2 separate regions of the Homo sapiens genome follow, and region 1 is linked to region 2. The links are contacts of gene promoters, found by promoter capture Hi-C in human tissues and cell types (Jung and others, 2019). All regions are on one chromosome and are shown on one strand. Each heading gives the region's core, a stretch centred on a gene start or on the middle of the fragment in contact. The rest is flanking DNA. Distances are from core to core; before and after follow the strand shown.

Evidence for each region. The method cuts DNA at HindIII sites, captures the fragments that hold promoters and counts their contacts. A contact is called where the count stands out against the background at its distance.
Region 1: a fragment that was not itself captured here is called in contact with the fragment with the promoter of ST14 in region 2 in 1 of the 25 tissues and cell types used here (thymus).

Annotation. Positions count from the first base shown.
Region 1 is chr11:130,095,828-130,102,733 of GRCh38, forward strand. All of the region lies in intron 1 of APLP2 (amyloid beta precursor like protein 2), which reads left to right. Among named protein-coding and RNA genes, the nearest start is that of APLP2, 29 kb to the left of the region's middle. The HindIII fragment of the contact is 5,421 bases long and covers 1-4,058 here.
Region 2 is chr11:130,155,614-130,162,432 of GRCh38, forward strand. ST14 (ST14 transmembrane serine protease matriptase) reads left to right here and starts at 4,169. Exons shown (of 19, transcript NM_021978.4): 1 at 4,169-4,447. The coding sequence starts at 4,367. RefSeq lists silencers at 4,048-4,167, 4,248-4,317 and an enhancer at 5,405-5,904. The HindIII fragment of the contact is 3,998 bases long and covers 3,157-6,819 here.

The DNA of each region.
Region 1 (6,906 bases), core at 98-2,597, 63 kb before region 2:
GAAGAAACCAAGAGCATAGACTTTAGAGTCAGTTGTTTACTTGGGTATAAATGATGAGCTACTGCATGCTAGGGGCTGTTCCCAGATAACAGTGGTTAGGAAAATACATGAGGCCTCTCCCCTTGACGAAGTCACATTCTAGTGATGGGAGATGGACACTGCAGATGAATGAGCAAGGTCGTTTCAGATTGCTTGAGAGAGATAAAACCTGGAATGGGTTGGAGGAGAAGGCCTTCCACGGAATGCCCCTTTGAGCAGAGTCCTGAGGGTGAGACCACCACACTTGCTTGGGAACAGCAGGGGAAGGCTTCGAGTTCTGGGAGTTCATTAGAATTCAGGACAGTCATCCTCAACAAGAGAGGACAGTTGGCCTTGAGGTGAGACAGACCCTGGCTTGTGACATCAAGGGTGGTGCTGGACTGGAGGGATGCTGGAGTGTGGCAGGGGCTGCATCATGGTGGGCCTTGCAAGCCACATTAGCCACTCTGAATTCTCTGGAATAGAAGAGCAGTGTGTTCTGCCTTGAGGTGATTCAGAGTGCTGGGTAGAGACTGGATCCTGGAGGGCTCCCAGTGCCCACCTGACAAGTAGTACAAAAGTGCTGTTGAGGCTGGGCCCTGTGGCTCATGCCTGTAATCCCAACACCTTGGGAGGCTGAGGCTGGGGAATTGCATGAGACTTGGAGTTTGAGACCAGCCTGGGCAATATAGCGAGACCTCATCTCTGCAAAACATTTAAAAATTAGCCAGGTGTGGTGCTGCACGTCTGTGGTCTCAGCTCCTCAGAAGGCCAAGGCAGGAGGATCACTTGAGCCTGGAAGTTCAAGGTTATAATCAGCCGTGATTGCACCACTGAACTCCAGCCTGGGTGACAGAGCAAGACCCTGTCTCTAAAAAATACCAAAAAAGGTGCTGTTGTATTTTACACCATGCAGGTTCATGTGTGCTTACACACACGTTTATATTCCTTTTATTCATTCTTTTTACTCGAGGGTAGCTTTTCCTGCTGTCGTTTATGCATTTATTAGTAGTTAGGTGGTTTGAACCCCAGAAGGTTAACTAATAGCCAGTGCAGCAAGCAGTAAATATACTGACTAGTGGCTCATACTTGCTTTATTACTTCAGTTTTTTAAATTGTTGATAATTACAATAATGCACATGGGCATGGGTCCAAGACAGGAAGAATTATTGTCTGCAAGCAGATCTGCTGTAAGCTGGTAATACAGTCTGATTTACTTTTAAATTTAAATGCCACATAAATCACAGGAAAGATGTCTTTTAACTTGCTTTGAATTTGGAAAGGGTAGAGCACTTTCGTATTTTTGTTATTTTCATGGTTTTAATGGGCATTAGAAGTTAAATTGATTTGTTATATCCAGATTGATATCTGAGTGTTGTGTGCACCTAATAAAATGTTTAGCGGAATGACTATAGAAATTTGTATTTAAAGTGTAAAGTTTCTCTCTCCCTGCCCTGTGAAAATCATTTTGGCAAATTGTCAGATTTTCTTGTTATAAGCAAAGATATGGGTTATTCACCCAAGAATTTCATGCCTTTCAGCATAGCAGAACCTTAGAAATTTAAGGACCAGGTATGGCGACTCATGCCTGTAATTCTAACACTTTGGGAGGCCAAGGAGGGAGGATTGTTTGAGGCTGGGAGTACAAGACCAGCCTGGGCAATATAGTGGGACCCCGTCTCTGCAAAAAATGTTTGTTTAATTAGCCGGGTGTAGTGGTGTGTGACTGTAGTCCCTGCTACTTGTGGGGCTGAGGTGGGAGGATTGCTTGATCCTGGGAGGTTGAGGCTGCAGTGAGCTCCAGCCTGGGCGACAGAGTGAAACTCTGGCTCAGAAACAACAACAACAAAATACCCACAAGAAAAACCTAAACCTGTGATTTCCAGTGTTTGGTTTTTATGGAATAATGGAACTAAGAAAAATGTTTTAAATAGATAAGGTTGTTCTTGGTTAATATTACAGAAGAATAATTTTTAAAAAGCAGCTACCTGTTGATTGTTGCCATCATTTTATGAAACCATTTTAATAACAAAAGGTAGAAGATAATGTTAGAATTCAGGACAGTTATTCTTCAGCAAGGACCATTAGCAGTTCTGTACCCTTACGCGTGGATGTGTGCACAACACATGCACACTAGACCTTTCTTAGGTTTCTCATTTTTCAGGGGGGCCACTGGAAACCTTTTGTAGACCCTGTTAGTCCCCTAGTGGATGCTGGGGACCCCTCCCTGCTTTAAAACACTGGCAAAAATCATCATATATATTAAAACATGGATATTTGGCCGGGCGCGGTGGCTCACGCCTGTAATCCCAGCACTTTGGGAGGCTGAGGTGGGCGGATCATGAGGTCAGGAGATGGAGACCATCCTGGCCAACACGGTGAAACCCCATCTCTACTAAAAATACAAAAATTAGCCGGGTGTGGTGGCACGTGCCTGTAATCCCAGCTACTTGGGAGGCTGAGGCAGGAGAATTGCTAGAACCCGGGAGTCGGAGGTTGCAGTGAGCTGAGATCACACCGCTGCATTCCAGCCTGGTGACAGAGGGAGACTCCGTCTCAAAAAAAAAAAAAAAGATGTTTTCAGTTGCATGAATTTGTTTTCTTATTTTTTCCCAGATACGTTAAAGGAAAAGAGATCTAGTGAAGTCAATTTCAGATCTCTGACATTGGTTATTCATGTTTGTGGTTTTAACCTCTTGAAGTCAGTTACAGCATTTCAGCCAAAGCTGGCATGTTGGATAGTTTCTCAACTTAGCCTTGGTAAAATCACTAATTCAAGTGTTTATTTAGTGAAATAGTTGGTCAGAAAAATGGAATATTTTAAAAAGAAGTGTAATTTTTTACAAGTACATGAAATACTCAAACTATGCTTAATCTGATTTTTAGTGACTGGCTTAATGCATATAAAAACAAAGTATATATCATAGAGTACCAGGTCAGCCAGAGGAAGCTTATAATTTCTGAGAGTATTGCCAGGTTTGTGCTTGGATATTCTACAGAAAACCCTTCATCATTTGTATTATTTCTGTCATCTGAATCAATAAGAATGATTTAGAATAAACATATTTTATTATTAATATTTAATGAGTAGTACTTCTGAGTGTTACTTGAAATCATTTCACTCTTTTAAGGTTTAGAAAACATATCCTTCTACATCCCCCCACCCCTGCTCTGCACGTACTAGTCAGCACACTCTTAATAACTGCCTAAGTAATGCTGGCCAGTGAGTTCAAATGTTAAGCCCAACTTCACACCATTTAGATCATCTTATATTAATTCTGAGGCCTCCTGCCTTCCTGACCTCTGCAGTTAGCATGCCTGACAAAGTATGAGAAATGTCTGGTTTGCTTTGGAGTCACAGTGAATTCTGACTTAGTGAGGGAGGCCATCTTCATTTCTAAGCCATGTTTCTCCTGCATGGGGAGTTTTAGGAAAATAGAGTTCCATCTGTTATAGTGTGAAAAAAAGTTAATATTGTAGGTGTCTCATTTAATAACTAAACTTTGAGTAGCACCCTATTTATGTTGCACAAAAGTGAAAACTAAGGTCAAGAGAGATTAAATAACTTCCATGAGATTACATAGCAAGGAAGCAGAATGTCCATCAGGAAAACCAGTTTAGAAAAATAATTTACATAGTGCTCTTCTGATCACAGAAGTGTTTTGATAGTTGCAGATTCATCTTGACTTCACTTCCAAGTCCCGGAAGCTGGGCTAGAGCCAGGAAGTCAGCAACTCTTGGCCATTTTCTTTTAAATGTATTAAATCATTCATCTAAACGTTTGGTGACTGAATTCCCACAAAATATGAAGCATTAATGCAACCTGCTTTCCTCATGTCCATAGTTAATGTGTGAAGAAGGAATGTGCACTCTTTTAAACCCATTTCATGCCATCCTGGATTTGGGAAGGATGGCCAGTCATGTGGGGACTTTGTGGCCTCTTCCCTTGTGCACCTCGGGTTCAAGCCCCAGTTCTGCGCAATTGCAGCCAGAGAGTGGAAAGAGCCAGCCTGATGATGATGGTGATGCTAACGTGCTTGCTCTGCGGCAGGCATTGTGCTCAGTGGTTCTGCGTGTTATTTTAATCGAATCCTCACAACAGGCCTGAGCCGTCGGTATGTTAATAACCCTGTTTTGTAGATTAAAAAATTAAAACCTGGTAATAATGAAAGCTCCCAATGCTTGAAGAGCGCTTCTATGTGACAAACACTTTTCAAACACTTAACATATATTAACTCATTTAAACGTCAGAGCAGCACTGATGTGTAGTTATTATTGTCATTACCTTATAGATGACGAAAGTGAAGCCCAGAGAGGCTAGGTGACCTGCCAGAGTTGGCACAGCCAGTCAGTGATGGAGGTGGAACTCTGTCATGGTGTGTCTGCGCCTTAAAGCCACACTCTTGGTCTTTCTCCCAGGTCAGTAGTACAGTGAGTAGAAGAGTAATGGTTGGCCGAGGCCAGTCCCTAGTGTCTCCATACCCCCTGGAAATAAGTTTCATGGACTTCCTATTTTATAATGGGCAATCAGAAAAAAAACACAGGGACTGATGAAGAACCTGTTCATTTGAGAATTTCAGGTGTGTAAACACTGTTCTGCGTGGTTTTTTTTTTACATGAAAGTATTTTATGTATTTGTATATTTTGAAAAAACTTCCCTTAGCTCTCATGTCAGAGACACATACTGAAAGACAGACCTCTATTAAATCATGATGTTTGGCTCCTTACCACTATAATCCAGATGGACAAATTACCATGTTTCCATAAAAAGCGTTGGAGACAGCCTAAACCATTTTCAATCTTGGAAATGATACCTCATTTATACTTTAATATTTAAAGCTCTAATAAAAGCTGGAGTTATTTGTATAAATTACTGTCTGTGAAAATAATACCTAACAGCCGGCATATGTCACTGTAAGAATAATGTCTTTTTACACTTGGAGTTTTCCCCCTACACCCAGTTCACCAGTTTCTAATTAGAATTAAGTTTAAATGTTAAAAAATCAAAAGACCAAGAATTTTCCATTCATGTAATGCAAACTCTAAATAATAGGTTTTTTCATTTTACTGCTATACAACCGGAAAATGCTTAACAAGAATCCTGCTATTTTATTAGATAGTGGTTTGAAGCTTCACTTCTCTGCTGCTGAAAAAGATACTCTTAAAGTTTCAAACTGTGGTCACTGTTTGGACAGTAAAAAAAAAATGTGGCATTTCTTACACATTAGGCTCTGGGTCAGAATCGTGATAGTCTTCCAATTGCAGAAAAATAGAATTTAATATGTGTACAATGGGGCTTTACTGTATTAGGATGTGTACCCGTGTGTTTTGTTGTTGTTGTTGTTTTTTGAGATGGAGTCTCGCTCTGTCGCCCAGGCGGAATGCAGTGGCGTGATCTCGGCTCACTGCAAGCTCCGCCTCCTGGTGGGTTCATGCCATTCTCCTGCCTCAGCCTCCCGAGTAGCTGGGACTACAGGTGCCCGCCACCGCGCCCAGCTAATTTTTTGTATTTTTTTTTTTTTAGTAGAGACAGGGTTTCACCGTGTTAGCCAGGATGGTCTCGGTCTCCTGACCTCGTGATCCGCCCACCTCGGCCTCCCAAAGTGCTGAGATTATAGGCGTGAGCCATCGCGCCCAGCCCGTGTGTTTAGAATAATACACTTTTCAGGTATTGAGCCTGTTCCGATTTTACTTACTAGTTGTGCTACCTCAAATTGTGTGTTCTCTTTTTGACAGATGAGACTCTTAATATTGAAACGATGCATTCCAGATTGAAATCTAGGCATATAATAAGCAGAATTCAAAAACACTGTATTTTGAACAAATTTTAGACTTTAAAAAAAGTTGCAAAAATACTACAAGAGTTCCCCTATACTGTAACCCTGTTTCCCTTAATGTTGACATCTTGCATAACTCGTAATGCGATGATCAAAACCAGGAGGTTTGCACTGGCACAGCACTGTTAACTGACTTACAGACCTTATTCAAATAATTGCTGCAGTTTTTCCACTAATGTCCTTTTCCTGTTCCGGGATCCTGTCCAGGCGCCTGCATTGCATTTACTTGTCATTTCTGCTTAGTCTTCTCAGATCTGTTGCAGTCCCCGGTCTTTCCTGATCAGCACCCTCAAATGTCTCATTGTGGATGAGATTAATGTAGGTGTCTGATGTGTGTCTCTGCTCTCAAGTAATTGTTTTCCCTTTTGTAGCTAATATCTTTGGGGAGATACCTTGAAAGGATACTGAGAACAGAATTTTTTTTTTTCACTTCGTTCAGTTTAGTAAATCTTTGGTGAAGGTTCATGAACATAAATTTGTTCTAATTTGTGAACCTTGAAGTACTTCAGCGCTTGAACAAATATGAATGAAAATAATATATAGGATTTTCGTATCTTTTAACAGATGGTCCTTTTTTACTGACTTTTCCTTAAAAAAGGTTTTTGAACAAGAGCGTCGTACCTTTCGCTATCAGTAGTTTGCTAGTGGTAACTAGATGCCTCGAAGGCCTGCTTCATTCCGCGTTTATTAGAACTAGAACTGTGTTACATTGCCTTCGCAGGGTGAAACTTGAATACTCGTGTGTCTCATAAAGCCGGATTCCTTTCAAAGAGACCTGATTCTTCCACTAGTGGGATCAAACCATGTTCATGGGAAGATGCTCCCTCTATGGCAGGCACCTTCAGAAGCCCTGCAGCCAGATTTGATCCTGGAATAGTAGCTTCAATGAGGGCAGAGATAACTGGGTGTGCACGTTTGCTTTGGAGTGAGAGGACTGCCTGGTCCTGAGGGCTTTGTGAAGGGAGGTAGGCTTAGATGAGCCCAGGAGTTGCATCACTTGAGGTGATTAAAGGCCCTGATTTAAAGTAGGTTGAGACTTAGATTTATTTAG
Region 2 (6,819 bases), core at 2,919-5,418:
ACCTGAGGTCAGGAGTTCAAGACCAGCCTGGCCAACATGGAGAAACCCCATCTCTACTAAAAATACAAAAATTATCTGGGAGTGGTGGCACGCACCTGTGATCCCAGCTACTTGGAAGGCTGAGGCAGGAGAATCACTTGAACCTGGGTGGAGGTTGCAGTGAGCCGAGATCCGAGATTGTGCCATTACACTCTAGCCTGGGTGACAAGAGCAAAACTCTGTCTCAAAAAAAAAAAAAAAAAGAAAGAAAAGAAAATAAAATAAAAAAAAGAAATTATGGTATGCTTTTGTTTCTAAACTCGGTGAAGAGACCCAGTAGCAGACAGCTTACTTGACGGACACTGATCAGCTCCACAGACTGTCCTCGCTCACTGTCTCCAAACAGCATTTTCAGTGCTCTTATGTGTATCAGGAAGATCAAAATACACTATACCATAAGTCCTAAGTGACGGAAGAGATTAGTTATTAAATTCTGGGGAAAGTTAATCATATTCACTTTGAAACTTTAGCTGAATTTGGATCTCACTAAGGGGAAGGGGCCAAGTCATCGGGGATGGGGTGGGAAGGACCGTGCAGGAAAAAGCAGCATTACCTCAAGGATACTAAACACCTGGCGTTTAGAAAGTGCATTTTCCCCATGAAGCATGTTTGACAGGGAAGCATGAGGGCTGTGCCAAGACAAAAGCAGAAGTGGTTCTAGGTGTCGAATTCATATAAACCTTGTTGTTTCAGAAGGTTTAGGTACATTTATGGATGCCAGCTCCATAACCGGTTCATTTGACTTTATTCTGTTCATTCTCAACCTCTACCACACCTCTTTGCTGTTTGCACTTTTCTTCTTTATTGAAGGAGCATGAGTCGCCTGCAGGCCTGGCACAAGCTGCTCTGGTCTCCCCGCCTTGGATGGTACCAGAGCACTGGCTGTTTCACACTTGGGCTGGGCCTACCTCACATGGCCCTACTGTCTCCCACATTGTCACCAGCTTCAGCCAGTGTCCTTTAGCCTGTGGGCAGGTCCACATTTGCACACCTTCTAAGTGGTCCCGGCCACAAGGACATAGGGGCTTGTTGGACATGCCCTTGAGGGGGTCCCAGGGACACAGATGTAACTTTCCCAGCAGGCAGTCCTGGAACCAGGAAGAGGATGGCTCCCTGGAGAGGAGCGATGACAGCTTTGCAGTGCTGGGGCCGGGGAAGGGCCAGTGAGGGGGTGGTGGAGAAGGCACAGTGGGTGGTGAAGGTTGGGTCATTTGGTCATGAGTCACTCTTTCTATAGCAGAGAAATGACACGGACCTCAAGCCAAAATCTGGGCTTGAGTTGGATTTGTTCCTTGTGAGTGTGAGAATCTGGTCCTGTTCTGGAGGCTGTCTGCTCTTGGGTTCCTTCACTTACCATTTAGGAACAAAAGCACTGACATTTCATAATTTTTTGAGGATTAAACCAAATGGGATTCATGGAATAACATATGGTTACACTGCCTCCTCCAACCCAGGAGTGCACATAGGGTGCATGCAGCAAGGTATCCCCATGCAGCCATCCTAGGGGAAGGGTCTTGTCCTGCATCGCTTTCTCTTCATCTGCACTAGCAGTCAATGCATTGCATTCATACGGCATCCAAATCACGCTGAGCGCCCAGCTCTACGAGATAAAAGATGAGGCCCTAGGAAGTGGGGAGACAACGTGAGTCACTGCGTTTGCAGCAGCACAGAAGGTCTGTGTGTCAGGAGTACCATCTCATTTACGTCACATTGAATTTGGCTTACTTTCCATCACTCACACTAGTTGAAGAATGCTGTGCCATTGGTAATCCAAAGGAAAATTTATTTTTATATATTTTCTTTTTCTTTTTTTTCTTTTCTTTTTTTTTTTTTTTTTTTGAGAGATGGAGTCTCGCTCCAGGCTGGAGTGTAGTGGCATGATCCCGGCTCACTGCAACCTCCACTTCCCAGGTTCAAGCAATTCTCCTGCCTCAGCTTCCCAAGTAGCTGGGACCACAGGCATGCACCACCATGTCCAGCTAATTTTTGTATTTTTAGTAGAGATGGTGTTTCACTATATGTTGGCTAGGCTGATTTCAAACTCCTGACCTCAGGTGATCCACCCACCTCAGCCTCCCAAAGTGCTGGAAGCCAACGTGCCAGCCTTTTAGAAATATTTTCTGTTTAGCTTTGGAATGCTTTATGTGATGGAAGGCAGCAGATTCATTCTTCTTTCAATTAAATTGACCCAATATATTGTGTTAGTCATTGTGCTAGGCTTTGAGGGTGCAAAGGCAGTTAAGACACAGACAGAAAATGCAACGAAATGGTGGTGAGCTCCATGAGAGAGGTACAAACAGAGCTAGTTCTGGTTGAGAGGGAAGGAAACTCCTGGGGAGGAGGTAGCATATCAGTCAGGAAGCGTGAGGTTTGCAGCAATAACAAACAACCCTCAGCTCTCGGTGGCTTAACATCCCAAAAGCTGACTGACTCCTCATTCATGCTACATATCCAGTGTGTGTCATTGTAGCCACTTAGGGTCACAGGTCACAGAGTTAAACCTCTCAGAAGAGAGCAGGGCATTGTGCAGTGCCTCCTTATGCTGCTATGTACAAGTGGTGTGTCCTCTCATTGGACATTTTCTTGGTTACCGCTAGCCATACTGCCATACCTAACTTCAGAGAAGAGAGAGTAACACCCTGGCCTGTGCCCAGAAGGCAGAGAGCTAAAAACATTCAATGAACAACACTAAAAAACCCCATCGGTGTCTTCGACCCAATATGCGGAAGGAGTATGAAGGAGAAGAGCTTCCAGGGGATGAAAAGCTTTATGAAAGCTGCCAAGATCAGAACGCCTGGCTGGAGAGAGGGGCTCCAAACAGGAATGCTTGGAGGCACGGTGTTAAGGGAGGACAGGGCAGAGTGTGAAGCTGGGCTAAGGAGGTTGGATTTGATCCGGGAGACACGGAAAGTCATAAAGGAGCTGTGGTTTCAGATTTACCTGACTGCTTTGTGTAGGAGAGATCAGAGGGTGGCAGCCCAGAGGCAGGAGATCTTTCTTAACCAGGCAAAGGGCTCTGAGGACTCGAATAGCGGTCTTCTAATGCGCAGGAATGGAAGGGCTATGCTTGTCAGCAGAGTCTTGATCAGATTTGGAACTAATTGGATATGAGATGTAAGCAGGGTGGAGAATCAAAGATGATTCCAGGATTTGAGCCTGGGAGAATGCTGCCATTAGAATTAGAGAAAACAGTGGAAAATGGGCAAGTCAGGGAAGGAAGATGGGGCTTGTTGATCTCAAAGCAGGGATTTTTATTTTGTTCACTCCTGTTTCCCTGTACCCAGGACAGTGCTTAGCGCCTAGTGTGTGCTTGGTAATGTTCATTGGCTACAGAATACAGTAGAACATAAATGGAGACGTCCCCAGGCGACCGCTAAGGCAGAACTGGCACTCCTTGGTGGTGTCTGTGCTGGGAGGGAGGTCTTCCTGTCTGAAGTCGTAAGATGAGACGTGCTGCCAAGAGAAAAAGCTTAGAGAAGAAAGGGATGAAACTGAAGGGAGAACTTTGGGAATCATGACATTTAGGACTAGAAAGGAGGACCGGAATCCAGGGAAAGGGGGCATTTGAGGAAGCATCAGATGCTGCAAGTGGGCGAGGGGCGTTGGGATGGCTCAGAGGGCATCTGGTGGCACAGCTCATGTCACTGGGCCTCCCCAGGGTAGCCGGGCGCAGGCCAGCAAGCGCCTCCCGCCTGGAGAACAGGAGGCTGCGTAGCCGACGGGGAGCCTGGGCCAGGGGCGGTTCTGGTTTCTGTTTGGTTTTGGGGGGTTCATAAATGCGATTTAGTCCTGTAGCAAAGTGAGCAAGGTGAAGGGGAGAGACCGGAGGCGCATGAGGGAGGAGGGAAAAGATGGTTGGCATCAAGGAGGTGGATAAAGGGCTGCCCTCCCGGGGCAGGGCCCCTGGAGGGCCGGAGGGGTGGTGAACGCCGTCGTGGTGATGGTGAGGGCCTTAGCGACCACCACCCGAGTGAGGCCCCCTCACCTTCAGGCCCAGAGCCGAGGGGAGGAGCCTCCCCCAGGGCCGGCGGGGGCGGGCAGGTGAGCCGGGCAGGTGCGCAGGCGAGCGCGGCGGGCTGGGCGGGCCGAGGCCACACCCTGAAACTACCTGCGTGGGCCGGGCCGGAGTGTGAGAGCGGAGCTGCAGCCGGAGAAAGAGGAAGAGGGAGAGAGAGCGCGCCAGGGCGAGGGCACCGCCGCCGGTCGGGCGCGCTGGGCCTGCCCGGAATCCCGCCGCCTGCGCCCCGCGCCCCGCGCCCTGCGGGCCATGGGAGCCGGCCGCCGGCAGGGACGACGCCTGTGAGACCCGCGAGCGGCCTCGGGGACCATGGGGAGCGATCGGGCCCGCAAGGGCGGAGGGGGCCCGAAGGACTTCGGCGCGGGACTCAAGTACAACTCCCGGCACGAGGTGAGCGCGGGCCGGGGACCCGGGGCGCTGGGAAGCTCCTGCCCGCCCGACCCTGCAGCGCGGCGCTGGGCTCGGCCGGCTCCCCTGGCGTGTCCGTCGGTGGCCGAGCTCTGGGCGCACAGGTGGAATTTCCTGTTCAGCGGGTGCCGGGCCGCGGGCGGGCGGGGCTGGCCGGACCTTTGGTACCGGACCGGCTGCGCCCCGCCAGGGGGAGGCGGGAAGCCCCTGGGCCTTCCTGCGCCCTCGGTCCTTTCTTTCCCTGAGTTGAAAAAAGGGGCTCCGTCTCGGCCCCTCCATGACTCTCGCGCTGTTAGTGAACATCTGGAAGAAACCAGGGGCTTGGAGTGGGGTTATTTGGGAGGAAGTGAAATTTCAGGAGGGTTTGGAGTCTCAGCCATCCTTGGCCTCTGCAGAAAGTTTCTTTCGTCTCTCTCCTTCCCCGTCAAAAGGCGCTTTGGGACCTCGCAGAGGACAACTGGGAGGCCAGGGCTTTGGCTGCCATACGGGCTGGAGCTAAGAACTCCAGAGTTGGGCTTGCCTGGGCTTCTCGAGAGGGGATGGAGCCCTTTGGGAAGGCGGCTGTATGGGAAGGGATGTGGGAACACACATGTCTTGAGCCTTTTGCGAAGTACCGAAACAGGAAGCTCTTCTTTGGCAGAAAGAACAATGAAAGACCTATTGAAAGATCTCAAAAAGATTACATGTTCCTGTATGGAGTTGGGGATGGGTCGCTAGTCACTTCATTGACGGACCCACCTAGGTGGTAGTGCCCGGGCGGGACCAGCAGCCAGGTCTCTACCCTCTCTGTCCAAGGCAGACCCCCAGGTTTCCTGGAAGGCCAGGGCATACCAGGTCAGGGCGGCGCTGAGAGGCAGGGGCTGTGTGGCAGAGAGTTTTGCTCCTCTGCAAATGATGGCCTCCCTGCCCTGCCAACCCTCACTTTCTCCCCTCCTTCCGGGTGCCCCTGGGCTCCATAGTCTCCGCCGTTGCTCCCTAAGTCAGGCCTGATTTTGGTGCTGTCTCAGATCAATTCCTTTTGTCCAAGCAGCATCCCGACCTAGGGAGCTTGCAGAAAATCAGACGCTGGGGCTTTGGAGGCTGCCTGCACCACAGACAGGACCTGGGGCTGGGCTCTGCTATTTTCTCCACTTTTCACCCTCAGCAAGGAGGAAAGCTTCCAGTGGACCTGAAGGCTTGGGCCCTTCCCCTGGCTGTGCCTGTGCCCTGCTGTGAGGCAGATTCACCTTCTCTTCCTTGCTGTAATTGCTATGTTTGTGTCCTTGCTAATTGCCTACTTGGGGTTCTAGACTCCCTGCCTCTTCAGCAGAGAACCTGCTGTTTGGAATTTGTTATTTCAGGGCAGTCCGGTGCCCCCACCCCAAGTTTGTTCTCCCTGACTTCCCTTTCTAGGACTCTCCTGCCCACACGGGGAAAGCAGGGTCTTCCTGGTCGTGTGGTCCAGCCTCCTCTCTGAGCCATCTCACCACCTGACAAGCAGCCAGGCTGGGGCTCACCTTCCACTCACCCCCAGGATCCCACATTCAGCGGACTTGTCTTGTCACCTGCAAGCCCTGGCTTTAGTTTCCCCCATCCCTGCTCATTTCCTCCTCCTCTGCGAAGCTCATTTGCTCTCTGCGCCCTTGGGCTGTTCCTTCCCCCTCTGCCATTTTCATTCTCTTGGCTTGCTCTTTGTCTTTTCTCCTGCCGAGCTTTATTGAACTAACTCAGTACCTAGTCCCATGGGTGAAGGGAAGGCTCTCAGAGACCAGTAAGATGTGGTTGTTTCCTTTAAAGAACATCCAGTCTTGAGAGCGAAACTAAGAGACGAATGCCAAAGTTAGCTGTGAGGCGGAGTGTCCAGAGGAAATTGGCCAAAGCTCATTTCCATGTCTTGCAGATTCCTCCCATCCCTGGCCTCACCAGAAATCCCAGTCCCTGGGATCACCCTGTAGTGTGTGTTTGCAGCTAGGATGTCCATCCCCGGCCGGGAGGTGTGGCTGCTGCCCCTGGGTTTATTATCTGGGTCAGCAGAGCCTGGCCCACAGGGTGCTGTTGTTTCTGGGTTCCTTGTCCCCAGTTGCATCCATCCGTGCACCCTTGTTTGGTGGTATTTGTATCTGGCTGTCCCCTTCCCAAGGCTGGTGGTGTGGCCCCTGCCCCACCCCTGCTGTTCCCATCAAGTGTTCTGCGTGGCCTTCAGAGTCCTGATGCACGTTACTGCATCTGGGGATGGTGTGAGCCCTGCCTGCAAGCAAGCAGGGAAACAGATGCCACTTCTTATGGCCATTAATGAGAGCCAGGGAGCCTGCCTCCCTGAGGGTCTTGATTCCTGTTGAGTATTTGATGGTGAATATGAAGCTGCCTTGACATCC